4 separate regions of the Homo sapiens genome follow, and all the other regions are linked to region 1. Evidence: promoter capture Hi-C in 16 types of primary human blood cells and fetal thymus (Javierre and others, 2016). All regions are on one chromosome and are shown on one strand. Each heading gives the region's core, a stretch centred on a gene start or on the middle of the fragment in contact. The rest is flanking DNA. Distances are from core to core; before and after follow the strand shown. Region 1 holds the start of CSTF2 (cleavage stimulation factor subunit 2). Region 2 has its middle 5.1 kb from the start of TRMT2B. Region 3 has its middle 1.8 kb from the start of TSPAN6. Region 4 overlaps SRPX2 (sushi repeat containing protein X-linked 2).

Region 1 (2,967 bases), core at 186-2,685:
CACTATGCCCTGCCTAAAAAACATTTTTAACGAAAAAAACATATTTTAGGTAAGAATAAATGTCAATTGTATAGTGTATCAATTATATCTCAATAAAGCTGTTACAAGAACAAAATGTATGTGAAAAGTCACCAGTAAAGAAAACCTGCCATTATTACTAAGAGCCAAATCTGTGGTGATTTTTAAGAAGCTCCCACCATGAAGGAAAAGGGGATCTCACCTGAAACTAACAACAGGTCCAACCTCAGAAAAGATGTCCTTCAACTGCTCTTCAGTAGCTTCATAAGGAATGTTCCCCACTAAGGAAGAAAATAGGTAACATTAAAATTCTGAGTTTATAACATAGATCTTTAGTGAGAAAGTAAACTTATATCATCAAATATAAGACTCAAAATAGTGTTCTCCAATCCCAATTCCATTGTATTTCTTCAGACCTCTTAACAAAGGAAATATACCACTGAAACTAAATACAAAATGTGTAGGTACTCTCAAATGTTAGTTCTCAGACTGATCTGACACGTGTTAGATTTTCCTTAACTTTGGTGCAAATAAATACTTTGGCACTGGTATTTACCTAAAGATCTGCAAGTCTCATCAGTGACTACAAAAAATATCAATGTTATTTAATATAATTTTTAAAACAGGTTCCTATGTATTTCCACACATACAACATTTAAGGGAGAATGACGATGAATGTAGTGAAAGATGTTTAAAAAGTATTCTGAACTACTTTGTCATGTCCCTTTCAAATGGTACTCTAAAATAATCACACGTATTTTTAAAAACAACTTATTTCAGCCAAAAAGATAATTCAGAATCGTTTCGATCCTTTTTAAAATTCCTCTGAGGAGATCTTAATAGTTCATTCATTCATTCACTTACAAGCCATCTCAGGACACCAGGTGGCCGCTACCACTATTGATGCACTAAAATGTTACAGATAAAAAGCAAAGGATGAAAGTCCTTAGGAGAGGACAGTAAGTGGACACTAGGATCTATACCCTCAGCATATAGTCTGTATTCTGGGGCAGAGGATGAGAAGTAGTACGGGACAGTGAGGAGCTGTTACCGTGAGCCTTCTCCTCTAGAGAATAATTGAAGCTCATGAAAGGAGAAACGCACAGAAGCTGAACGCTAGTCTAACTTCCCCACTGATATTGCGGAAAGCCTACGAGACCTCGGCAGAATGGGAATATCTCTTTGCTCATGAGTCCACCAGGTTGGACGCCCTACAGGATAAGCAGGGAGAACTGCACGTCCGAACCGTCAGCGGCTCCGGTAGCGATTCATGAGATAGAAGGTGCAGAGGGGAGTCCCTCCCCGAAGCTTGACTACAACGAATTCCTCTCACCGAACACAGAACGTAGAGAACGATCCACCGCTGGGTCTCTCACAGTCAAACCCGCCATAGCTCTGTTGAGTCGGCTTCCGGTGCGCCAAAGCACACTTCCGTACGGAGCACAAGCCCAGCGCTGAGCACGCTTCCGTACGGCGCGTGAGCCGGAAGGGCCTGGGCGGAACGGACGCAGAGCCCCTCCCCTGGAGACATTCTGTTAGCCGCAGGCGCGAGTTGCGTCCACCGGAGGGCTATATTCTCACTCCTGAGATTAACTCTGTTCCGAGCCAGATGCAGGCGAGTCCAGGCTAATTTGAAGGGTTTCAGCCTGCAGACTTCCTTCTTATTAATTTTCTCTTAGGTTGATGCAAGTACTCCTCAACCACAATAAAGGCGCAGCGGCTTTACCATGGTAACAGGGAAGTCCTTTGCTGACAACTGTGGGGCTTGCATTTTAGTTCCGCCCTATCAAGGGAGGGAAATGCTTGGGCCCGTCCCAGCAGCGTGCATATTATTTGCTAAACCTGTTCGTGTGTGGAGTGAGATGAGGAAAGGGCATGCCAGCCGAGAGAAGCATAGTTAAAGAAATGGGAGAGGTAAAGGGAGAACAGACCTCTGTCCTCGTGTAGTCCGTGGGTTCCATGTGCTTCGTGGTGGGGCGGTGCGGCAGGGGATTCTGGCAGGCAGAGTATCGGAAACAGAAAACGTCATTCATCGGTTTTTCCACACTTTGGTGCCCACGCGCCTGGGATATGGCATGCAGGGCAGGTCGTTGTATCATCCCGGAAAGGCAGACCCTGCCGGGGTTGGAGGAAATCCAGGGGGCACCTCAGGAGGACAGGGTTAGGGGATAAGCAAAGGAAGGAGCCAAGAGCGCTACCTTTGAGGGACTTGTCCGAAAAAGGAAGACGGTAAAATAGCCACGGAATTGGAGGCATGGACGTTTTTATTAATTCCACATGTATTAAAAGTATATGGGCCGGGCGCGGTGGCTCATGCCTGTAATGCCAACACTTTGGGAGGCCGAGGCGGGCGCATCACCTGAGGTCGGGAGTTGGAGACCAGCCTGGCCAACATGGAGAACCCCTTTTCTACTAAAAATACAAAATTAGCCGGGCGTGGTGGCGCATGCCTGTAATCCCAGCTGCTCAGGAGGCTGAGGCCAGAGAATCGCTTGAACCCGGGAGATGGATGTTGCGGTGATCCGAGATCTGCCATTGCGCTCCAGCCTGGGCAACAAGAGCGAAACTCCATCTCCAAAATAAAAGTATATGAAATATGATAAATATTTAGAAAAAATTAATAAGTGCTAGTTTACACCATGAAGCATATCACTTTAAGAAGTAATTCTGGTAAAGATGGAAAGTTTGAGAAGAGTATACCCATTTCCATGACTCTAGAGTCCCATTTGCAATCACTGTGTGACCAAGAGGACACCTTGTGTAATGGAATGGTCCAAAAGGAGATTTACAGCTCTGTAGAAGGCACAGTTTCAAAGAGTTTTGGTGTGTCATTGTTCCGTTGTGGTGAACTTTTGCTAAATGCATGTACGGCTGAGTATATTTCTAACTCAGTGTTTGGCAAACTTACATAAACAAAAGATTAACCTGGGGTCTTTGAGTAAGAGTATA
Region 2 (2,967 bases), core at 190-2,689, 240 kb before region 1:
ATTTTGTGACCTCTGGAATAATGGCTGGAAATCATTTAACTATGCCTACATCTTAGTATAATGCAGGCCCCTCTCATCCTCCTAACCTGGTTGGTGGCCTTTCATTAGTTTTACAAGGGTGGTTTAGTTTTTGGGAAAGGCTGTTATCATTTAAACTATAAACTAATTTTCTCTCAAAGTTAGCGTGGCCCATGCCCATGAATGGCCAAGGACAGCTTGAAAGTTGAAGGCAAGATGGAGTCAACCATGTCAGATTTCTCTTAATGTCATCATTTTGCAAAGGCAGTTTCAGTGACCTGGAAGCTGAGGGAGACTGTTGCATACATTCAGATGGGAGGTCATAAGTTTCTGTGCTAAGGCAAGCTATACTGCATACTGCAAAATTTTCTCAAAATATGGTCAGGGACATCTGCAACATAATCAGCTTGGATGATTGTAACACATATGGATTCTGAGTCCCACCCCACACTTACTGAATTGTCCCACCCCACACCTACTGTGGTCCCGACCCAGGAGCAGACTCAGTCCAAGAGGGCCATTTTCCATACCCCTATGATTGCATCCCCAACCAAAGGGGAAGAGGAGGTGATGAAAGGTGTAGAGCTGTGTATGCATATAACTATAACTGCCTACCAAACTATCTTTGAAAAATTCTAGCCTCCAAATTTTCAGGGAGATTGATGTGAGTAATAACTCCATCTCCTACATGTTGTGGCCGAGCTCTCATCAATTAAACTCTTTTTTTTTTTTTTTTTGAGATGGAGTTTTTCTCTGTCACCCAGGCTGGAGTGCAGTGGCGTGATCTTGGCTCACTGCAACCTCCGCCTCCTGGATTCAAGTGATTCTCTTGCCTCAGCCTCCCAAGCAGCTGGGATTACAGGCACCCACCACTATACCCAGCTAATTTTTGTATTTTTAGTAGAGATGGGGTTTCCCCATGTTAGCCAGTCTGGTCTTGAACTCCTGACCTCAGGTGATCCGCCCACCTCAGCCTCCCAAAGTGCTGGGATTACAGGCATGAGCTGCCGTGCCTGGCCTAAACTCTTTCTTTACTGCAATGCTGTGGTCTCAGTGAATTGATTTTGTCTGTGCAGTGAGCAGGAAGAACCGGTCAGGTGATTGCATCACTACATCCTAAAATCCATCTATATACAGCTCCTAGAGTTATCTTGCAGAAACATCTTATGAAAAAAAAAAAACCCAAAAACTCTTCATTAGCTTCCTATTGTTACAGGAACTAGCTCAAACTCCTCATCCCAGCCCTCCAGACCCTTTGTTATTTTCCCTGACCTGTCTATCTGATCAGCCAATGGCCAATGGCTTAAGCACCAAACTCTTATCTAGCCAGGTCTGCCTCCTCATGGGCCTTGTACAATTATTACTCATTTCCTCTTTTCATGCTGCAGTCCCAGTTCCTCTCAGATTATTCATATCCTATGCATTCAACTCAATTATCACATTCTTTTCCTTCCTTTGGTACCAAGATGGTGGCTGTTTTCTGAGACTTACCAAAGCCCCAATAGTTGTGTATTCTCACACTGAGTATTATCTTCCTATCAGGTCATACAATCTTTGAGGGTGTGGTCTGTGAATCTATCCCTCATAGCATATAGCACAGTCCTAGGTGCACCAAAGAACTTGTTTAATGGAACCAAACCAGCCCTAAATGCCAACTAATTTTTGTAAGAGTTAAAGAAAGAGGAAAGAAACATGAAAAGTGGCTCAACAGACAAAGACAGGTTTATTTTGGATAATCAACCGGAGAGGGTCTTCTGGCCGATTTTGGTCAGGAGTGCTCTCTCTTACAGACTAAGAGTATTTATTGGTTTTAGGGTGAGGGAGCTTATTACAGGCTTGGAATGTTACTGTGGTGGGGAGAAGTTTATTGCAGGGTTGGAATGTCTCTGGTTGGAGGGGAGGTTACTTGGGGCTGGCATGTCTCTGGTTGGGGAGGGGTTTATCTTATGGTTGGAATGTTTCTGGTTGGAGATGTCATTTACGGTTTATGGTCATGTTGACCTTAGCCATTAGGCTGATGCCCTTTGGATTTAGGTGTTTTTTTGTTTGTTTGTTTGTTTTTGTTTTTGTTTTGAGAGGGACTTTCGTTATTGTTGCCCAGGCAGGAGTGCAATGACGCGATCTCAGCCTACTGCAACCTCTGCCTCCTGCGTTCAAGCAATTCTTGGCCAGGTGCGGTGGATCATGCCTGTGATCCTAGCACTTTGGGAGGCCGAGGTGAGTGGATCGCCTGAGGTCAGAAGTTCAAGACCAGCCTGGCCAGCATGGCAAAACCCTGTCTCTACTAAAAATACAAAAAATTAGCCAGGTGTGGTGGCAGGTCCCTGTAATCCCAGCTACTTGGGAGGATGAAGCAGGAGAATTGCTTGAACCCAGGAGGCGGAGGTTGCAGTGAGCTGAATTCACACCATTGCACTCCAGCCTGGGCAACAAGAGTGAAACTCCATCTCAAAAAAAAAAAAAAAAAAAAAAAAAAAGGAAAAGAAAAGAAAAAAAGAAGAAAAAAAAGCAATTCTCCTGTTTCAGCTCCTGAATAGCGGGGATTACAGGCATGCACCACCACGCCCAGCTACTTTTTGTATTTTTAGTAGAGACGGGGTTTCACCATGTTGGCCAGGCTGGTCTTGAACTCCTGACCTCAGGTGATACTGCCCGCCTCAGCCTCCCAAAGTGCTGGGATTACAGGCATGAGCCTCCTTACCCGGCCTTAGGTGGTTTTTGATCAAGGAGAACTTTAGAATTGTGGTGCTTGTCCAAGATGGCGATGCTCCTGCTTGGTAAATTTTAATATGTTATTTCTGAGAGCGAATGCTGTAGCCTCTCAGCTATCTTTTCCTTGCACCAAAATGAGAATGTTTGACAAATTCCTAGGGATTTCACTTTGTTGTGATTTGGTTTGCTAATAACAAAATTAAGTAAAAGGTTATCTTGGTTCCAGCTCTTATTTGA
Region 3 (2,967 bases), core at 260-2,759, 180 kb after region 1:
TGGGCATTATGTCCTAGGGTACTGAGGAGAGTATAAAAGGGGGCATAGGGGCCCTGCCACACTAGCTCTTCAGTAGTTTCTGAACATCTAGACGGTAGGATGTAGAATAGGTAAGTAGAAATGCAAAGCAGATATTGCAGTAATTGACTAAAGGGCTGGGTTAATGGGAGTGAGTGTGTAGTTAAGACAGTTATGGTGTTAGAGAAAGAGGTGAGGAAGGAGGGACTTTTTACTGAGTTGGGATTGAACTGGATATTCAGTAGAAGCAGAAAGTATGAGTGAAGTTGAGGGTGGGCAGGGACTAGGGAATAGGACTTGTTTAATTGGGGGGTTGATCATACTGACCTGGTACAGAGCAGAAAATTCACATTGGAAAAGCAGTAGGAAATCAGTTGAGATTGTATTGGGATGAGGGGCTTGGTAGGGATGGAGGGAGGCTGGAGGTGGCACAAGGGAGGTCTGACTTAACAGTGAGCCCTTGTTTATGTCATTTCCCTTGCCTGATGTCTAGCAATGAAAAACATTTACACCTAATCTTGAAGGTTACAGGAAATTAATTGGGAAGGGGGGCTACTAAATGTTCCATGTAAAACAAGCAGTAACAATACTTAAAGTATTTTCCTTTTTTCCTACATTGTTGGCATCAAATTGTGTTTCTGTGCTCAGAAAGAGGGAGAAATTAAGAGGTTGAACAAGAAAAAGTACTGAACTCTCTGCCTTACCACTCTGGGGCAGGTAGGGTTACTTCCTAGGTGGCTGGGCTATTGGAGTGAAGGCAAAAGCCAAACTCAACCAAAAAACCCCAAGTGCAAGGCAGAATTGGGGCAATCATTGAGGTTCTTAAGCTTCAGAGGCTCCGAGGAGTCCTTGTTTTAGGTTAAATGTCTGTGCAACAGCAGTCTTTACTCAGGTTACTCTGCGCAGAGGCAGCTGTACGTACAACAGCAGCTATGTTTCATCACAAAGTGGGCCCCATTTCTGATGAAAGACACAGAAGTTGCCCAGGTTTAGTCCTAGGCAGCTTACTTGGTCTCTTTCAACCTGTTTCTTCATCTGTAAAATGAAGGTGCTAGGTGTGTCAACCTCATAATAGGGTTCTTGTGATGTGTGCATACGAGGTAATGTGTATCAAGCTCTTAGCAATAGTGGTTGGTATACAGTCAATACTTATTATCACAGTCATTATTAATACTTTAAAGAATACATTTATCTAGTGGCCTAGGGAAATACTTCTTAAATTGCCTTAAACGGGATTAGATGCCCCTTTGGTCTGGGTTTGTACCCAAACCCAGGCCTAGGTTTGAACTAAATTGAATTTCTCGGTTTGGTGGCATTGTGGGGGTGGGGAGATGGAAGTGGGTGTAGCAGAGTAGGAGGCAATGGTGCAAGGTGTTGTAGCCATAGGAATATGAATTTCCATGTCAGCATTTGGTTTAATTTGGCACCGAGTGTTATTCAAACAAAGCAGCGTTGTGAGTGGTAGAGGAAGGGAGAGGAGGAAAGTCAACACATTCTTGGAAATAAGATGTGGCTTTTGCTTTGCTATTTTGTTTTTTCTTCAGCTACAGACATATTTCTTTGCTCTTGGGCTCACACTGTAAATCCCTTTCAGTACATATCTAAGTTTCAGAGAAACTTCTCTTTAAGATGACAAGAAGTTATCAAGACTTCCCTTGATCCTTGTTTTTAGTATAAGAACCCTTCAGTTGGGGTCATTTAGCCTAGGGAGAAATCTTTGCATATACTTAGACACCCCCCTCCACCATGTTGAATATTTGGTATTTCCTAACGACTTTACCTCAAAGTGTTTGAAGGTGTATGTAGATGTATCGTTTATCCATTCTCTCCATGTATTTGTGTATTAGGCCTTTCAAATTTTAGTAAAAATTTTAGTATAAAGCCTGGCAATGCAATAATTAATTTTCCAACAGTTGCTGCCTTGCACCTCAGACGTCTGGCAAGATGTTATAGGAACTGGTCCTAGGTCAATATTCGAAGCACAGGGAAGCTCTGTGTGACCAAGTCAATGGAACTTTCCTGTGTTCTGGTCCTGAGGTGTATGTTTAAAGCAACGTTTCAAGCAGAAAAGTTTGAGTATTCATCTCTCCTCCACAAATGCAGGTCTTTTTGCAATGGCAATAGAGTAAATAGCCACTTGTGATATTAAGCTTGTGTCAATGATGAAGGGTTGGATTGCATAGGGAACTGATACAGCCTTCTAACCCCGTTCCTCTAGAGATAACACAAACTCACTTAACACTCAGTCTCTGCCTTCAAAGAGCTGACGCTTTAGTTGAGAAATCAGACCTTAACGCACCTCCTGTGTTGTAACAACATAGACCAATATATTCACAATATATAACATTAGGTTTTAATCTCTCTGTAATCAGCTGGGTTTTGATGGGAAAAACCAGGTGGCTGGAATGTACAGTGCCTTTCTGTTTTAACATTTAAGAGGAGGTCACACTCACCAGGGATTTTTCCATTGCACTCTCTCTTTTTAAAAGTTTACAGCGAATAGCTGAACTTACATTTCACTATTATGTAAAAATACTTTCCCTCAACTTTCCAATTACTTAGGGGATAAAAAAGGAGAGGAATACTGGGGTTTTGCAAAGTCCTGCAGGTAAATTCTAAAGTCATTATTATCTTTAATACCTAGCTTAGAAATTCTTTCAACAAGTGGTGATTATTTTCCTCCATTCACATCTCCCCTTCCTAACCCATAAAACAATGTTCACAAATTGAAAAGCACACAAGTGAGAAAAAAATCAGCCTAATTCCACCAGAGGTAAATTTCACTGTTCCTTTCAGTTTTTGTCTAAGCACACGTGACTGTATGTATTGCTTTGCAATCCGCTTTCTTTTTGCAAATATATTTCTTGTGGGTATTTTCCCATGTATTTTCTTAGGTCGCTTTTAACCTCTTCATTCTTTTCCTTCTCTCTAGGGCACCAGGGGCCAGGG
Region 4 (2,967 bases), core at 231-2,730, 150 kb after region 1:
GAACTCTGTAACAGCCTCAGAATAAGAAGTCTCTAGTGACTGTGTGCCATTTGGAGTCTGATTTCATCAACCCAGAGTCTCTTGACAGAGTCTCAGGAATACAGGTGAGGGAGCACTTCCCAGACTGCTGTGGCCATTAGCCCATCTTCGTAGGAAACTGTTATGGGGTGGCTAATCTTGCTGTACAACCCATCTTCCCTGGTGGGCTGAGAGTGGGGCCCCTCTTTAGCCTCTTCTGGTGTTTCTCCTCAGGGATCAGTAATGGGGAAGTGGTGGACTGGATGGACTCGACTGGGGAAGAAGTGAGCCTGTGGCAGAAGATGCGACAGTACCCAGGGTCTTGGGCAGAAGGGACTCTGCAGCTCCGTTCCTCAATGGCCAAGCAGAAGCTGGGTTTATGAGTCCCTGTCCTCTTCTGCAGGTCCAGCCCTGGCGAGGGCAGGTCAGAGGAAGTGAAGAAATCAAGAGCAAAGATTTATAATTTAATGTGTATGTGTGTATGTGTGTATGTGTGTGTGTGTGTGTGTGTGTGTATGTGTACAAACATGTATTTTCTGCAAATCTCATTATGCTGGCTAGAGTGATGCAGACTTGTTCTTCTTTTTAAAGCAGTCTCAAGAATAAGCATTTCTTTAAAATGTTTCTGTGTATAATCTAGTTTATTTTCAGAGTCCATTTTTTCTTATGTCTTTATAAGGTTCACTTAACTTAAAAACAGCTTTTAAAACAACTTTTTATCTTCTGTCTTGCTATCATTGTTCCTACTTCCCTAGGAAGCCCTGGCTACCTTTCGCATTAGGACCAGTCTGGGTTTTAAGGCTCTGGGAAGCAGGGTTGGTTAGTAAAGACAGGAATGTTGGGGAGAGGTGAGTAGTTCCTTCCTCTTTCTCCTCTCCAATTTATGCTTTTAACTTATTTTCTACCTGGATAAACTTCTGGAACTTGGCTTTTAAATTTAACTTTTCTAGTTTTTAAGCAGTTTCCACCTTGCTTTGGTCTAATGCTTTTCTTTGAAATGCTAACAGAATTCCCAAGCTTTTTCCAGTTCTAGATATCTTTACTAGACCTTTGGGGGACTCTTATAATGGAGCTGCTTTTGAAAAGCACTTTAATTAGATAATGTATTTTGACTAAATCACGAGGATGCCCAGTGAGAGCTTCTAGCTGATCTCAGAGGACCAGAGTGACTGAGGGTAAAGTGTCTCACAGCCCATGCTGAATTTTCTGCATTTTAAACTGATACTGCAGTCATTGGAGAGAGAGCTCCTCATTTCTCGAATGAAAGATGAGATATATTCATCCTCATGTACCACATCTGTCTTAGTGTTTGCGTCTGGGGTGTGTTATCAAACAGAGCATGGTCTACATCCCACTGTGTCAACCAGAAGAGCCAAGTGTTATCTCAATTGGCCCAGTGTTTCTCCAGGCTGGGGACTGTTAAGGGCTCTAAGGGAATGTAGACAGAGTCTCCCTGTTATTCTGACTTCCTGCTTGATGAGCTTTCAGTTCCTGTTTTTGCTATTGTTTCCTAAATTTGACCTACATATTACATGGGTGTAGTGTGTTGAGGCTTTTCAAAGAAGGGTCTAGTGAGCTAAGTTTCATCTTCTGGTACTCATTGATCAAACTGACCTTTCTATTCTCATAAGCGTTTCTACCCAAAGTTGTGTGTGGAAGGAGTGTATAGCAGAGAGGAAATCCCTTTCAACAGAGTCAGCTGCTAACTGATTTCCTATAAGCACACTGGATTAAGGGCAGCCACAGTGGTTTCTACTGTATGTATGAACCGAATGGAGGAATGTTTTCAAAGATTGATTTGGTGTGGATTGCAATTGTAATGGAAGGCATAACTTGGGATCCCGGGCTGTAACTTGCTCTTTTGTTTCCCACCCCCCTGACATGTATGTGTGCTTTAATAAAGCTTTCTCACTTGTCAAACGTTTGTGTTTGTTAGTTCTATAAATGCTTTTGTCTCTGATGTCCTCACTGTTGCTTTTCCCCTGGCTTGAAGGATAAGAACCAAAGTGATAAATGCTCTTCCCTAACCATCCTATGCTGATTGAAGAAAATTCACCTTTCCCCGCATTGCTGCCTGATACCTTAAATGCCTGATACTTTCGCTGAGCTTGATCCCTCGTCCTTTGTATTTGGTATCTAAGGAGAACACTGAGAAATCATCTTTAAAGTGGCACCACTTTTCTATCTTGTAACAAAGGAACTCTTCCTTTAGCTTTGCAGACCCTCCTATACTGGAGGAAGGAGAGAGATGTTCATACAGGAGGTGAGGGGAGACATTCCCTGCTATAAGCACTTCTTTCTGGATCCTTCAATTTCTCTGGGAGGCGGGGACTTTTTCTTTTACTCCTCCTACCATTATGTAGTTTTGAGAGAGAAATAACACAGGTGCCAAGTAACCCAGCTCAGAAATAAGGCTCTTGATTTCTAGGTAGAACCCAAGCAATTCTTGACCTCTTGTGCAAAAGGGCATTAATATATATCAAATGCTTTTTATGTGCAAGGCTTCATATACTATTTCTTTAATTTCTCCAACCACTTTATGAAGTAGGAAATCTTCCCTTTTTACAGATGAGGAAACTCAAGCCTACTGTCACGTGACAGAGTTGGGCTTTGAATCAAAGTCTGACTCTACTGCACCATGTGGCCTCCTGTGAGAATGGTATGTGTGTTATGGGTGAAGGGTCAAAGGAAGACGTGACTCATCTCTTCTAAAATATCTTAAATAAGTTCAATTTACAAAAAGTAGGACAATCAGAATGCTTTGGATATTACCTAGCCAACTTAGTGACTGTACTGCTTGTGAGTGAGTGTGTGTGTATGTGAGAGAGAGAGAGACAGAGAAATAGGGGAGAGGAATAGGCAGGATAAGAGAGAATGGGGCAGTGGGGAGAAGTGGGGGAGAGGTGGGCAGAGAGAGAGGTACAATATATACAGGGGTCGGGCTAGCCC

The links. Contacts are between HindIII fragments. The CHiCAGO score rates a contact against its expected background, and 5 or more counts as called.
Region 2: a fragment that was not itself captured here is called in contact with the fragment with the promoter of CSTF2 in region 1 in 6 of 17 cell types (non-activated CD4 T cells, naive CD4 T cells, activated CD4 T cells and 3 more); the score reaches 8.3 in non-activated CD4 T cells.
Region 3: a contact is called between a fragment that was not itself captured here and the fragment with the promoter of CSTF2 in region 1, in 2 of 17 cell types (fetal thymus and naive CD4 T cells). The highest score is 6.0, in fetal thymus.
Region 4: a fragment that was not itself captured here is called in contact with the fragment with the promoter of CSTF2 in region 1 in 2 of 17 cell types (monocytes and total B cells); the score reaches 5.3 in monocytes.

Annotation. Positions count from the first base shown.
Region 1 is chrX:100,818,859-100,821,825 of GRCh38, reverse strand. CSTF2 (cleavage stimulation factor subunit 2) reads right to left here and starts at 1,435. Exons shown (of 14, transcript NM_001325.3): 1 at 1,352-1,435; 2 at 221-299. The coding sequence starts at 1,409. RefSeq lists enhancers at 1,204-1,363, 1,644-1,693, 1,704-1,763. The HindIII fragment of the contact is 13,366 bases long and covers 1,329-2,967 here.
Region 2 is chrX:101,055,690-101,058,656 of GRCh38, reverse strand. No RefSeq gene overlaps it. Among named protein-coding and RNA genes, the nearest start is that of TRMT2B, 5.1 kb to the right of the region's middle. The HindIII fragment of the contact is 4,943 bases long and covers 1-2,967 here.
Region 3 is chrX:100,637,088-100,640,054 of GRCh38, reverse strand. It overlaps a transcript of TSPAN6 not described here. Among named protein-coding and RNA genes, the nearest start is that of TSPAN6, 1.8 kb to the right of the region's middle. The HindIII fragment of the contact is 1,323 bases long and covers 848-2,170 here.
Region 4 is chrX:100,673,462-100,676,428 of GRCh38, reverse strand. It overlaps SRPX2 (sushi repeat containing protein X-linked 2), which reads right to left. Exons shown (of 11, transcript NM_014467.3): 11 at 641-2,967. It overlaps SYTL4 (synaptotagmin like 4), which reads left to right. Exons shown (of 20, transcript NM_001370165.1): 20 at 253-1,938. The coding sequence ends at 401. Among named protein-coding and RNA genes, the nearest start is that of SRPX2, 31 kb to the right of the region's middle. The HindIII fragment of the contact is 886 bases long and covers 1,038-1,923 here.